2 separate regions of the Homo sapiens genome follow, and region 1 is linked to region 2. Evidence: promoter capture Hi-C in 16 types of primary human blood cells and fetal thymus (Javierre and others, 2016). All regions are on one chromosome and are shown on one strand. Each heading gives the region's core, a stretch centred on a gene start or on the middle of the fragment in contact. The rest is flanking DNA. Distances are from core to core; before and after follow the strand shown. Region 1 overlaps TRIM35 (tripartite motif containing 35). Region 2 holds the start of EPHX2 (epoxide hydrolase 2).

What was found. Contacts are between HindIII fragments. The CHiCAGO score rates a contact against its expected background, and 5 or more counts as called.
Region 1: a fragment that was not itself captured here is called in contact with the fragment with the promoter of EPHX2 in region 2 in 1 of 17 cell types (monocytes); the score reaches 5.2 in monocytes.

Annotation. Positions count from the first base shown.
Region 1 is chr8:27,298,720-27,305,871 of GRCh38, forward strand. The region is part of intron 1 of TRIM35 (tripartite motif containing 35); the gene reads right to left. Among named protein-coding and RNA genes, the nearest start is that of TRIM35, 9.0 kb to the right of the region's middle. The HindIII fragment of the contact is 2,439 bases long and covers 614-3,052 here.
Region 2 is chr8:27,485,606-27,492,725 of GRCh38, forward strand. It overlaps EPHX2 (epoxide hydrolase 2), which reads left to right and starts at 5,538. Exons shown (of 19, transcript NM_001979.6): 1 at 5,538-5,704. The coding sequence starts at 5,604. RefSeq lists a cis regulatory region at 3,281-3,595 and a silencer at 5,342-5,621. The HindIII fragment of the contact is 2,149 bases long and covers 4,853-7,001 here.

The sequences.
Region 1 (7,152 bases), core at 583-3,082, 190 kb before region 2:
TGGTAAGTAAGGTCCTGATCCTGAATCAGACATCCATGGGATAAAGAGCCCTCAGACATCCTGTAGCCCAGCCTGGTACAGACTGGGAGATGGGGCTGAGAAGAAGCAAGCTGCTCTCTCTCATGTTGGTCACAGCACAGGCCAGAAGAGTGTCCCATGTGGGCCAAAAGCTGGTTCATGCTGGGTCTGAATCCCTGAGCTGTGTGGACAACTGCAGACAGTGTGGTCATAGGTTCCCTCTGCAGTTTCCTAAACTGAATGGGTCTGCAATCTCTAATGTGAGGTGACTGACAATGGGGGTGGAGCCAGTCATTTCCCACGGGGTTCAGTTACCTCCCATGAGGCCTCACCTCAACATGCCCAACATGCCCCTCCATACCCCTCCTGCATCCTGACATTCTAACACTGCTTGTATCGCACGGAATACTTTAATCAGCAGGCACAAATACTTTTGGTTTAGTAGTTTTTGTTTCTTAAACTTTAATGATTGTTTCTGATGTCCTTGGACAACTTGAAGAACCACTAGAGTGTTTTAGGTTGGATTCCTGCCTCTTGTATCTTAGGCCTATCATTTTTTCTCCCTCATTATCCTTTTCGATCTACATTCTCAGAAAGCTTCTCAAGTTTTTTCTTAAGAAAAATAATTCAAATAATTATAAATGGTTATCATTTATTCAGTACTTACTCTGTGCCAGGGACAACACCAATTACTTGAGAAATTATGTCATTTAATCATTACTTCTCCCTAGTAGATAAGTAATATTATTGGCCCCATTTATAGATGAGAAAGTGAGGCACAGAAGGGAAATGACCAGCCCAAGGGCACACAGCTAGTATGTGGAAGGACGTGAACCTGGACAGCTATGGAGGCAGCTGCTGAGACAGCACCCAGTGATCCCTCCCTCCTGTGAGATGAGAGTGTTTTAAGCTGCTAAATGTCGGGGTGACTGGATATGCAGCAATAAATTATACAGATGTGTCGCCCAAAGCCTCATTCCCATCTGGACCTGATTTAGATGACAAATCTGGACTTTGGGCTGATGCTGTAAAGGGATGAGATGTTTGGAGAGCTTGGGAGAGGGCCAGTGCATTTTGCATGTGGGAGGGACATGACTCCTTATGGGGCAAAGGACAGATTCAGGCAGGCAGCCTCTAAAGTGGCCCCAGTGACCCTCACCTCCTGATACTCATGCTCTTGTGAAATCCCCTCCTCTGTGGGTGACTTGTTTCTAACCAAAAGAATGTGGCAAGTGATACTAAGTCACCTCTGAGGTTAGGCGACAAAGGCTGTGTACACCCTGCCTTCCTCTCTCTAGCTTGCTCACTGGGATGGTAGCCAGCTGCCCATGTGGTAATTTGCCCTGGGAGTGACTGCTGGGGCAAGAAACTGAGAGTGGCTTCTGACCTACAGCCAGTGAGGGACTCAGGCTCTCAGGCTAACAGCCCGTGAAGACCTGAATCCTGCCAACAACTACAAATGTGAGTGTAAATAAGGATCCTGCCCTAGCTGAGCCTTCAGATGAGACCACAGCTCCATACCTACAGCCCCTCATGACAGACCTTGAGGCAGAGGCACCCAGAGCTAAGGCAGGCCCAATTCCTGACCCACAGAAACTCAAAGATAATAAATGTTTGTTTTAAGGCACTAAGTTTTGGGCAATTTGCTAGGAAATAGAGAACTAGCCCATTGGTTAGAACTAGCCCACAGAACCCTGACTGCAGCCCCTCATGAGACACCTTGAGGCAGAGGCACCCAGAGCTAAGGCAGGCCCAATTCCTGACCCAAAGAAACTCAAAGATAATTAATGTTTGTTTTAAGGCACTAAGTTTTGGGGCAATTTGCTAGGAAATAGAGAACTAGCCCATTTGTCCCACTCAGTAGCCCATTCCTTTAAGTCTTTCACTACAGAAAACAAAATGGTTACTGATTTCATTTTCTGCAGTTCTGTTTTATTTTCAACTCATTTTGATCTTTTAATCTTAAGTGACAATATTTAAGATTTTTAAACTTTGTTTTCTGTAGTATATCATCTCTAATTTGCATGAGTGCCCCCACAAAACCACTGAAATGTCATTCCAATGTTTTATTTTATAGAATGAGATTTTTGATACAAAATCATGTAATACAGTTCAAAAGGAAAATTTAGTGATTTGCCAAATTAGTTAAGTGACAGGAGTGAAGCAGCTGTCCATACGCATTACCCAAAGGTGTGCAGGCCCCAAAACAACACAGTTCAGCCCCTGCCCTTCAACCCTGGCCCTTAGGAATTTATGGGACAATAAGGATGGGAAGGGGATAGTCCCTTGATCTTCTCAAACTTTTCAATCACTTGGAGAGTTCTGGTTTCCTTCAGAAAAGACCAATCCTAAAATGGCCCTTCTCTGAGATGTCAGCTGATGAGACTAACCAACAATTATATTACTATTGCTAGCAAGCAGTTACTATTAAGCATGTACTAGACACAAGGCACTAAATTATGCACTTTACAAACATTCTATTTAATTCAATTATTTAATTCGAATTCTCCCTATAAGGTTAAGCACTGTGAGTCCCATTATACAGAGGATCAAGTTAGACCCAGAGGAGGTAACCTTCTTGTACATGTCTCCTGGGGACACATGGGAACTCGTTTCTTCATAATATATTCCTGGGGATAAAACTGCTGGGCCACCATATGTGTCTTCACTTTACTGCGTAATGCCAAATTGTTTTCCAAAGCAGTGGTACCAATTTTTACAGCAAGAGCAATGTTAATAGAAAATGTTTATTGACCACTTCAATGTTTATTTTTAAGTACTCAGTAAAGTATTGTCCATTTTTCCATTGCGTTGCCTGCCATTTTCCTAACTGGTTTGTGGGAATTTATTATATATACACAATGTATGTCCTTGATTAGTTAGAGGTGTAATGAATATTTTCTACTTCATCATTTATCTTTCTTAATTGAAATATGGCCAAATTTATTAGTCTTTTCCTTTAGGATTAGTATACTAGTTTTAAGAAACACCTCCCTACACTGAGATCACAAAAACAATCGTATTATTTCCTCAAAGCTTTATAGCTTTGCATTATTATTGTATAGCTCTGTAGTATTTTCTCAAAGCTTTATAGCTTTCCTTTCACATTTAGGTCTGATGTGGATACCTGGAGTTTATTTTTGCACATGGTGTGACCAGGTAGCTCATTGTCTCAGCACCATTATTTAAAAAGACCATTACTGCCCACTGGTCTGCAGAGCCACCTCTGTCTTAAATCAGACACAGATCTGTTTTTTGGTTCTCTCCATCTGTTTCTCTGGCCCATCTGTTTATCCTTGTGCCAACATCACACAGCCATAATTTCTATAGCTGTAAAAAAGAGAGGATTTCTGATAGGTTTCTCTTCAAGAATGTCTTGGCAATTTTTGGCCCTTTGAGGGTCATATAAATTTTAGAATCTGTGAAGTTGCATAAAAATAATCATGTTGAGATTTAGATTAGTACAATATTGTCTCTATAGATCAATTTGGGGAAAACTGAAAGGCTTAAATACTGACTTTACTAATCCACGAACATAATATATCACACCAGTTACTTAATGTTCTTTGATAGCTCTCAACGAAGTATATTTTTCCCTATCAGAGTTTTGCGTATCTTTTATTAATTTCTTCCTAGTTATCTTATTTTTTATATTATTGTAAACATATTTTTAAATTAAAAAAACCCAAAACAGGGTCCCCCTCTGTCACCCAGGCTGCAGTGCAGTAGTAGCACAATCATAGCTCACTGCAGCCTCCTGTGCTCAAGTGATCCTCCCACCACCTCAGCCTCCCAAGTAGCTGGGACTACAAGCATGCACCACCACACCTGGCTAATTTGTTTTAACTTTTTGTAGAGACAGGCTGGACTATGTTGTGCAAGCTGGTCTGAAACTCCTTGGCTCAAACGATCCTCCTGCCTCAGCCTCCCAAAGTGCTGGGATTACAGGTGTAAAACTCCCTGCCTATATTTTATTTTCTATTTGCTAGTGATACATAGAAATACAACTGGTTTTGCATCTTGATTTTGGATTCAGCATTCACCTAAACTTATTAATACTTATGATTTAACTGTAGAATCTTTATTTTCTACACATAGAAATCTCAGTGCAAAAATATGCAACCATATTATCTACACATGCCAGTTTTGCTTCCCTTCTTTCCAAACCTTACATCTTTTATTTATAATTATTGGCTTACTTCATTGACAAGGCTATCCCACACAAAACTGAATAGAGTTGGTCATAATGCGCATTCCTGTCTTTTTCTTGATCTCAATAAGAAAGCTTTCAATGTTTTGCCATTAAATGTGATATTTGCTGTAAGTTTTTTTGCTAGATATACTTAATCAAACTAATGAAATTCCTTCCATTTCTAGTTTCCTGTTTTTTTAAACACAAAAAGATGGTAAATTTTATCAAATGTTTTCTCACTGAGATAATTATATTAAGCAACACAGAATTAGGTTTCGTTTTCTTATCCAGTCAGATCAACATTTTCATTTAACTGGAGTATTTAACACATAATTACCGATATGTTTGCATTTAAATCTGCCACCTTGTTCTGAGCTATTTGTCTTGCTTATTCTATTTTTCTTTTTCTTCCTTTCCTTTTTTAAAATTTACTACACATTTTTTATTCCATTTTCCCCTTCTGTGCATCTAGTGGTTCACCTAGGAAATATGACATGTAAGAAGTGTGAATTTGAATGCATCTAAACAATATTATTTTGTTTGCTTTTGGTATTAATTTTAACCCTAAATATGCTTAGATTACAAATAGAACTACCACTCAAGGGGCCTGCCTGTAGCCCAAGGAGCACATGAATGAGCAGAGATGGGCAGTAGCAGGGGCCCACAACAGATCTGGAGCATCCCCCAGCCCAAGCTCAGGAGAGCAAACAAGCTTCGATGTTAGCATCACATTATAACATTAAGATTTTTTATTTATTTATTTTATATTTTTTACTTTTTTGAGATAGAGTCTCATTCTTCTTGTCCAGGCTAGAGTGCAGTGGCGCAATCTCGGCTCACTGCAACCTCTGTCTCCCAGATTCAAGCAATTCTCTTGCCTCAGCCTCCCAAGTAGCTAGGATTACAAGTGCCTGCCGCCATGCCCAACTAATTTTTGTATTTTTAGTAGAGACAGGGTTTCACCATGTTGGCCAGGCTGGTCTTGAACTCCTGATCTCAGGTGATCCGCCCGCCTCGGCATCCCAAAATGCTGGGATTACAGGCATGAGCCACCGCGTCCAGCCTACGTTAAAGATTAGTTATAAACACACACAAAATAGGTTTTTATTCATACTAAAGGATCCAGAATGTGATCATATAGACTACATGATTTCCCAAAAATGACAAGTTGATTCCTTAAGCAACAAATTTCAATTGCATATTGAAGATCTTAAGCACTTTACAAAATCACGTTACCCACAATTTTCATTAACAGGACAGGTGCTCTGTGGTATAGCTGGAAGCAGGAAGGTAGGGGCAAGGGAAAGAATGAATTTCATTGCACAAGGTCTTCATAGCCTCTTTGCAAGGACTTACCAAAGTGCTAGAGTTGCATGTGAAACCAGCTCTGTCTGGCCTGAGCCAGGTTTTCTGTCTTGTGAGACTTGATACACACTGTTGCTCTGCCTGGTTCCCACCTGCTTCCCCCAACTAACCCAACATCACCTTGAAAACTCGGCTCTAGTACCCCTCATTTCCTCCAGGAAGCCCCCCGATCTTGCCAGCTCAGGTTCCATTCCAGGGCATCACAGCACCCTGGCCACCTCTGTCTCAGCACTCACTATCCAGGGTAATAGCTTCTCTTTCCTGAGGGCAGGTCTTAACCTCCAGGTCCTCTCTACCTTGCATAGTGGTGCTCGGTACACTTCTGCAGAAGGAATGCTTGCTCTGCAAGGTGAGAGACTTTGTTTTGTCCCCTGCATGTCCAAGTCCCTGCACAAAGTAGATGTTCAGTTAACCACCTGCCCAGTCAATGAGTACATGGAATGCCTGTGTTTTTTCTGCTATATACCTTGCCTCCTGGACTGAAGGTTAGGAGAGCTGGTTTGGAGCCTTGTCTTTGTCACTATCCACTGGTGAGTTGGTAAAAAGTTCCTTCTCTCTTCGGCTATCAGGCTCCTCACCTTAAAAATGAAAGCAGAGAAGTCTCTACAGTCTCCCAAATTTCACGATTTGTTTTCAGGCAGATTGATGTAGCAGCCAAGAGTTCTGGCACCTGGCCGACCAGGTTCAAATCCCAGCACCTCTACCTAGTAGCAGGTGATCTTGAACATGTTCCTTCACTTCTCTGCACCTCCATTTCCTCATCTGGATAAGAGGGATAAAAAATACTACCAAGCTCAAAGGACTGCTGTGAGGACTCCACAAATCAATCCCTATAAGATGCTTACATGAGAGTGGCAGGCACATGCTGTGCATTCGGCATAGCTCTTAAGTGCCACCTACATGCCAGGTAACCTAACTGTCCTGCTGGATATGGTCCAGGTTTCTTAAATGAACAGTAAAAATGCATGGAGCTTTCTTATGCAACTCCAAATCAGTCTCCCAGATCTGTCTTTCCCCTTTGTGTTCAGACCTCCTTCCAAAGCAAGTGTCTGCCATGCAGCCCACTGCTGGAGGCCATCACTCAGGAGCCTCAGTGTGCAGGGTCTAGTGAGACACCCCCCACTCCCAATACCACTGGGCACAGGCCTGGACAAGCAAGCAAGCAACAATGTCCTCTGGTGCAACCAAAGAGCTGGTAAGTCCTCACCTAGAAGCTGGGGATCAGGATGGGGGTGAGTGGTTAGGAAATGGGGAAAAGCATTGGAAGGGGGAAGACCTGGAATGTGGCTTAAGAGGTATCGAGAGTACCCTTGGGTTAGATCCAGCCAGATGGACTCTAAGATGTTGACGCCAGAAGGGGAGAGAGGGCTGGAGCTGGGACAGGGAGAGGCTGGTGGCAAAGAATGGTCATCATGCCAGTCCTGCAAGATGGATAAGACAAGGGTCTGCACAAGGCAGCTCAGCACAGGGCTGCTGTAGAAGATGCAAGCTGGAGAGTGCTGGACTGGGAGGCAGGAAACCTGAGTTCTGATCCTAGAACTTTATTTATTTATTTATGTAAGATACAGGGTCTCACA
Region 2 (7,120 bases), core at 4,288-6,787:
GGTGGTTCCCAAGCTCTTGTACTGCACCCAGAAAGAATGAAGATATGCTGGACATGGAAGGGTGAGCAGGGTGGAGAAGACTCTTATTGAGCGACGAAACAGCTTTCAGCAGAGAGGGGACACGGGGGTGGTCCCCCTACCCAAAGGTGGGAAAGTCCCTCATGTGGCTGGGTCCGGGCCTTTTATGGACTCAGGATGGGGAGTGCATGCTGATTGGTTTGTGAGTATGCAAAAAAGGTTAAAGTGAAGACACCACTCAAAGGCGGGCATGACAATGCAGAAAACAAATTAGGAAAGGTTAGGTATATGTCAAATAGGTGCAGGGTGGGAACAATCTGAGGAAAGTGTGCCAAACAGGAAGACGAATTCTCCATCCGATCTGGGGATTTAACTTGTAGTTTGGTGTTCAGGCTTTAAACTGTCTTCGGCTTGGAGGTGGGGCTTCACCAGGGACCTGCCCCTATTTGCCCAGGCATTTGGCTGCCTCCTGCTGCTCTCAATAGTGAGCTAGGATCATGCCAGTGCACTCCAGCCTGGGCAACAGAGTGAGACCCCATCTCAAAAAAAAAGAAAAAAAAGAAAGCAGTTTCCTCAGGGGAGAGCCAGGTTTCGGGTACAGCAGGAGGGGAAGAGAATGGAAAAGAGGTTGAGGAAATGGTGAATTATGCTGATAATAAAACCAAGTTCCAGAAAGTTCCAGATGGCACAGTAGAAGGGTTTTTGGAGTTGGTGAAGAGTGAGAAGTGCCTACTCTGGCTGACTTAAGCACAGAATTTGAGGGCAGGATATCAGTGAGGGCCCTTGGGAGCTTGGAGAACTAAGCCTGGAAAACAAGAGCAAGGTCATTGCCAAACTCATAGCACAGAACTGGACTTGTGAAGACACCACTGCTGCAGTTGGGCGCTGAGGGCCTCGGGGCCTGCACCGTCCCTGCCAGCCAGGGACCCTGGCCGCTGCTGCTGCTGCCCTTGAAACTGCCGACCGACACCCTTCTCCTCTGGCCTGTTTCCTTCACCTGCTCCCACTGTAAGGGCTGGGTTGGTGCACCTGAGTTGCTGAATGGAGCTCACAGGCCTTCACTCTCACTTCCAGGCAGGCTGGGGAGTGGGCACAGGGCATTTCCAAATTCTGCAGTCAATGCGGTTCTTCCTTCTATCAACATTCATAAGGCCGGTATGCGTTATAGGGTTTTTATTACAAACTACAGAGCTTCCTCTCGGTCATATAAGCAGAAAGGTTCTTATTATAGGACATTAACACACAGAATCTCAGGGAGGACAAGAGATGCAGCTTTGGAAACTATATAGCCAAGAACAGCACAGTGACCGCAGGCCACCCCTTGGTGCAATTTTAACAAAGCCACCACTCTGCCCCAGCGTGGGCACCAAGTACACTCAGGACCAGACCAGAGAAGCTCCATCACAGCCTCCCCAGAAAAACTAGATGCTGCTGCTTCTGCCTTCGCTGAAAGAAAGTTCCCGCTCACACAGCTGTGGCTTTGGGCTGCCCATCCCCATTCCCAAATCCCTGGCGAGTATGCCCAATTGGCAGAGCCCGTGCACCTGGCCAGCATTAAGGAAGCCTGGGCAACATGTTGTTTGTGGATTCTACTGTGAGAAGGTAGAACTCAAAACAGTAGTAGTTCTCAAACAGTGAGAACTATCAAAATAGAAGATGTTGAAAGGATGTTGTGTATCTCTGAAGCAGAACTTCATCACTGCCAGATGGAATTTTCTCTTCTTCTCTACTCTACTCTTCTCTTCTCTTCTCTTCTCTTCTCTTCTCTTCTCTTTTCTCTTCTCTTCTCTTCTCTTTTCTTTTCTTTCTTTTGACAGAGTCTTGCTCTGTTGCCCAGGCTGCGAGTGCAGTGGCATGATCTTGGCTTACTGCAACCTCTGCCTCCCGGGTTCAAGCAATTCTCCTGCTTCAGCTTCCCAAGTAGCTGGGATTACAGGTGTGTGCCACCACGCCCAGATAAGTTTCGTATTTTTAATAGAGACGGGGTTTCCCCATGTTGGCCAGGCTGGTCTCCAACTCTTAACCTCAGGTGATCCACCCACCTCAGCCTCCCAAAGTGCTGTGATTACAGGTGTGAGCCACCATGCCCGGCTGGAATTTTCTGTATGTAAGAAAAGGTTATAGATGTTAGGAAGCTGGAAAATGACAAATAAGAAAAACGGCAAGTAGCCACCACCACTATTCCCAATCTCATTCTTCTCACTGCTCCAGAAGCCACCAGCCACTACCATTTGAATTCATTATTCCACTAAAATGGAAGATCCTTGACGGCCCCTATATTTGTCTGATTTATTTAACAATTGATCCCAAGTGCCTAGAACAGTGCCTGGCACATAGAAGATGCTTGATACATATTTGCTGATGGAATGAAAGACGCTCGTTCATTTGCCGCATTGAAAAAAAGACAAAACTTCAAGTGGTTTGTAGGTTTAGAAAACTGCCAGAGGTAGCTTTACTTTGAACTCCATGAGTATCTACAGTAGAGAGAAGCAGCAGTGTAAAGTCCTCCCTCCCAACCCCTAGTGGTTAAACAGATTTTATAAAATAGGGTTTGACAATCAAGGACTAGCAGGAAGTTGCAGAAGGCACAGGAATGGCAGAAAACCCAAAATAAACCTTAATGAGGTCAGTGTACATTCATTATGAATTTAGTGATTGAAATCAGGTGTAATTTATAAATTTTCACTACTACATTAGCCATCTTTTATGATTCATGCTATCACCTAAAACATATTTCATAAATATTAAAATTAGAAGACATAGGGGTTAGGATTTACATTTCAAAAAGCCACCCAGTTCCCATAGCCCTGCTGGGTAAGCCCTTATCTCTCTGTACCTTAGTAGCAGAAAACACAGGAGAAGCACGACCATGAAAAAGGGCAAAGTGCAGTGAAATGCAATTGAGACCTTTAATCTTTGCCTAAGCAATTCAGCCAGAAAGCTCTGTAACTCACAAGGCATTATAAAAATATTCCACACCAGAGCTATTTACAAGTTAACTGCTCCTGAATAAATAAAAGTCCATGTGATAGCTTCATGGCTTTCTCTTAACCAAAGAGGAAAGTAAAACTCATATTTCTATGTTTTTAAATTTTTCTTCTCAAAAGGGGGCTTTATGAAATCTAGTTCTGTAGGTATGTCGTTCCTCTACACTTTACTGCTTGTATAAATATACTTACGTATTCATAAGCAATACTGTGCTAGATGCAGAATTCAGATGCAGGCAACAGAAATCACTGTAGTTATTTTAAATAGAAACAGAAGAAAGGGATTTAAGATGAGAGACTGCAAGCCTACACAATCTTTGAACGGAATGGAGGAGTGAGCTCCAGACTGAGCCTTTAGGAAGGACTCCCAGAAAACACCACCATAGAACTAGAAGCTGCTATCTCTGCCTCAATCAGCAGGCCACCGCTAGAAACACGAACATATGGTTTGGCTGGGAGCCAAGGATCTGGAAGCAACTCCGTGGTCTCGGGACTGAGCCACTGAGTCAATGGGGATGCCAGTTTGTAAGATAGGGAACACACTAGGAGGAACAGGCGTGGGAAGTAGAAATGCAGAGAGAGTTCTGTTTTAGCCATGATAAATTTGAGATGCCTGTTAGACACTCAAGAGAAGATGTTCAGTAAGAAGTTGGATATTGACGTTGAGTAAGATGTTGAGTAAGAAGTTGGCAAGTCTGGAGCCCAAAGGAAACTCTAAGTTGGAGATTTAATTTCTTTCTTTTTTTTTTTTGGAGGTAGAGTCTTGCTGTGTCACCCAGGCTGGATGGAGTGCAGTGGCACAATCATGGCTCACTGCAGCCTCCACTTCCTGGGCTAAAGTGATCGTCCCACCTCAGCCTCCTGAATAGCAGAGACTACTGGCATGCACCACCATGCCTAGCTAATATTTTATTTTTATTTTTTATAGAGAGAATGTCTTGCTTTGTTGCCCAGGCTTGTCTCAAACTCCTGGCCTCAAGCAATTCTCCCACCTCAGCCCCAAAGTGCTGGGATTACAGGTGTGTGCCACCATGCCCAATCTGGAGATTTAACAGGTTTCATACTATATAGGTCAGGCTGCAATTTTCTTTCTATTTTTTAAAATTCAATTATACCTTTGAGATCAACTAACTTCATGAGAAACTAGCTTGCTGTACTCCCTTCTCTGCCTATCTTTCAGTCTTCAAATCCAGAGTAATCCAGTTTCTACCATAAAGGGCCCACAAAAAGTGTTCTGAAACATCCGGTGTCATCCAAGTCCAAAATTGGACAGCTTTTTTTTCAGTTCTTCCTGTAACATTTGGCAGTGTTGGCCACTCTCTGCTTCTTTGGCAAGAATCTCAGAAAACACTAATAACTGCTCCAGGCAGGAGCCTGGAAGAGGTTACCAAGCTAGAGAAGGAAGCAACAGCATAGCTTGCTAAGGGCAAACAGCCCAGAGGAAACCCACGGCTCTGGTCAATCCTGTTGTTGATTGCTAGATCCAGAGACTGTTGTAGACCTCCCAGTTACAGTGAGGTATCTGACAACCCCTCACAAGGTTCTTGAAGCTCCGTGGTGGAGGGTATCTTGGATAAATCCACAGAGACACATTCAAGAGTAAATTCTCCACTGTTGGAGACCTCACTCACTCTGTTTGGTCTCCACCAAAGACACGGTTTTTAATTCATGGAGCTGCACTACAACAGCTCAAGAACTCCCAGCCAAAGTTTTAGTTTTTCTAGGAACATAAACGAGCCAATAGTGTGGAAATCGGTGATTAAAAACAAACCTCGCACATTTTAAGACAGAATTATTACAAGTAGCATGTACAAAAGGAAAATAATAGCCTACATTTAGTTCTTCTAAGCTTCATTCCACAAGAGATTGAAATCGAAGTATTCTGGGCTGGCACACGATAGCTGGAACATCATATTTTATTCTAGAAACACATTTGCCTTGGCAAAGAAGAGCGTGCCTAGAGGAGTGGTCAGGATAGTGAGGGATCTGTGATCCTTCGTTCTGAATCTAGAAAAGTCACTGGATATGCCCCTCCCCCGCCCCCCAACACGGTCTTATGTTCTGAATGTAGAAGTCACTGGATGTGCTGACACACACACACACACACACACACACACACACACACACACACACACACACACACAGAGTCTGTGGCCTCTTTCCCAGGCATTCCAAGTCCAGCAAGTTCGCAGGGAGCTGTCAGTCCGTCCAGGAAGGCCCGGGCCTGGGTTTGCCTCTTCAAGCAGCTACTGCAGGGGCGTGGGGAGGGGGCATAAGAGACTTTGGACTTTCCTTTGAGACAGTAGAAAGCGTTACATCCAGAGGCGAGATTCTAGCCTGGGGTCCCCGCCTTCCCGGCCTCCTCTTCCTCTCCCTCTGACTCCCTTTCCTGTGCCCCTCCCCCTGCCTCTTTCCCGGCCAGAGTCCAGCCTTAACCCGGGCAGAGGGCGGAGTCCCGTTAAGGGGGTGTGGGGAGGAGGCGGGGCCAGGGCAGGGGCGGGGCAGAGCCGGGCCAAGCTGGGCGGGTCATGCGCCCTGGCCTTCGCGCATCTCCCAGGTTAGCTGCGTGTCCGGGTGCTAGGCTGCAGACCCGCCGCCATGACGCTGCGCGCGGCCGTCTTCGACCTTGACGGGGTGCTGGCGCTGCCAGCGGTGTTCGGCGTCCTCGGCCGCACGGAGGAGGCCCTGGCGCTGCCCAGGTAAGGGGGCCCAGCGCCGCCGCCGCAGTGGGTCGGGGCCTCAGGAGGCAGACCGCGCTGGGCTTGCAGCCCAGCTTTCAGATTGCTCCTGTGCCGGAGCCCTGCGAATCATGCGAATCATGAAACTGAAGACCTGGCCCTGAAGTCCCAGTGCATATGAGGAGATCCGTTGTCTTTCTAAATGTTCATAATTAAACGTTGCCAAGGTCTCCAAAATTGCTTTCTGTGAACTTTTCCAAAAGGGAGAGGAGTTACTCATGGAGCTTTGTGCTTCTGCTGCCTCCTGTCTAATGGGGTGGCGCTTAAAGATGCGAGCCGAGATTCAGGAGAGAAGAAAGTTCTCTCCCCAGGTGTGGGTTGCATGCTTACTTGTGTAATAGCAAACTGCAGCAACCGCCCAAAGCCACATCACTGGGAAATGGTAGATGGGGTGTGCAGAGTGAGAGCTCAGGGACTTGGGAAAACACCTGTTCTACTACATGAAAAAACCACCCCACCAGAATCTGAAGCTATTTATACAATATGGTTTCAGCTATGGAAAAAAGGTACATGCAGAAAAGTGCCTGAAAGAAATAGGCCAAAGTACATCAAATGAGATTAGGAATAATGTAATGATTTTCTTTCTCTCTCTCTTTTTTTTGTGTTTTTTTTTTTTGTAGTTTCCAACTTCTAAATTTATAAACAATGTATTATTCCCACATTCAGAAAGGAGAGAAGTATACTTATTTATAAAGTGAAAAAGAAGGCCAGGCATGGAAGCCATTGTTCATATCCTCCTTTTACATATGAGGAAACTGAGGCACAGAAAGAAACCAGCTGTCCAAATCACATAGCTGTTAAAGAGCAGAGCCAGAAATCCAACCCCAGTAGTCCATGTCCGGAGCCTTTGCTTTTAATATAGTAAGGAAGATGAGATGGCAAGTAGCTTGAGGGAAAGGCATGTAATCTCTGTGCTTTGGGAAGCTAAGGTGGGAGGATCACTTGAGGCTGAGAGTTCAAGACCAGCCTGGGTGAAAGAGCAAGACCCTGTCTCTCCAAAAATAAAAATAAAATTAGCTAGACATTAGTGCATGCATGTAGCCCCAGCTACTTGGGAGGCTAAGGCAGAAGGATTGCCTGAGCCCAGGAGTTGGAGGCTATAGTTGTGTCCAGAGTTGGTTCCTGTCGGTGGGTTCGTGGTCTTGCTGACTTCAAGAATGGAGCTGTGGACCTTCGCAGTGAGTGTTACACTCGTAAAGATGGCGCAGACCCAAAGAGTGAGTGATAGCAAGGTTTATCGTGAACAGCGAAAGCACAAAGCTTCCACAGCATGGAAGGGGACCCCAGCAGGTTGCCGCTACTGGCTGGGGTGGCCAGCTTTTATTCCCTTATTGTCCTCTCCCATGTTCCATTTCTGTCCTATCAGAGTGCCCTTTT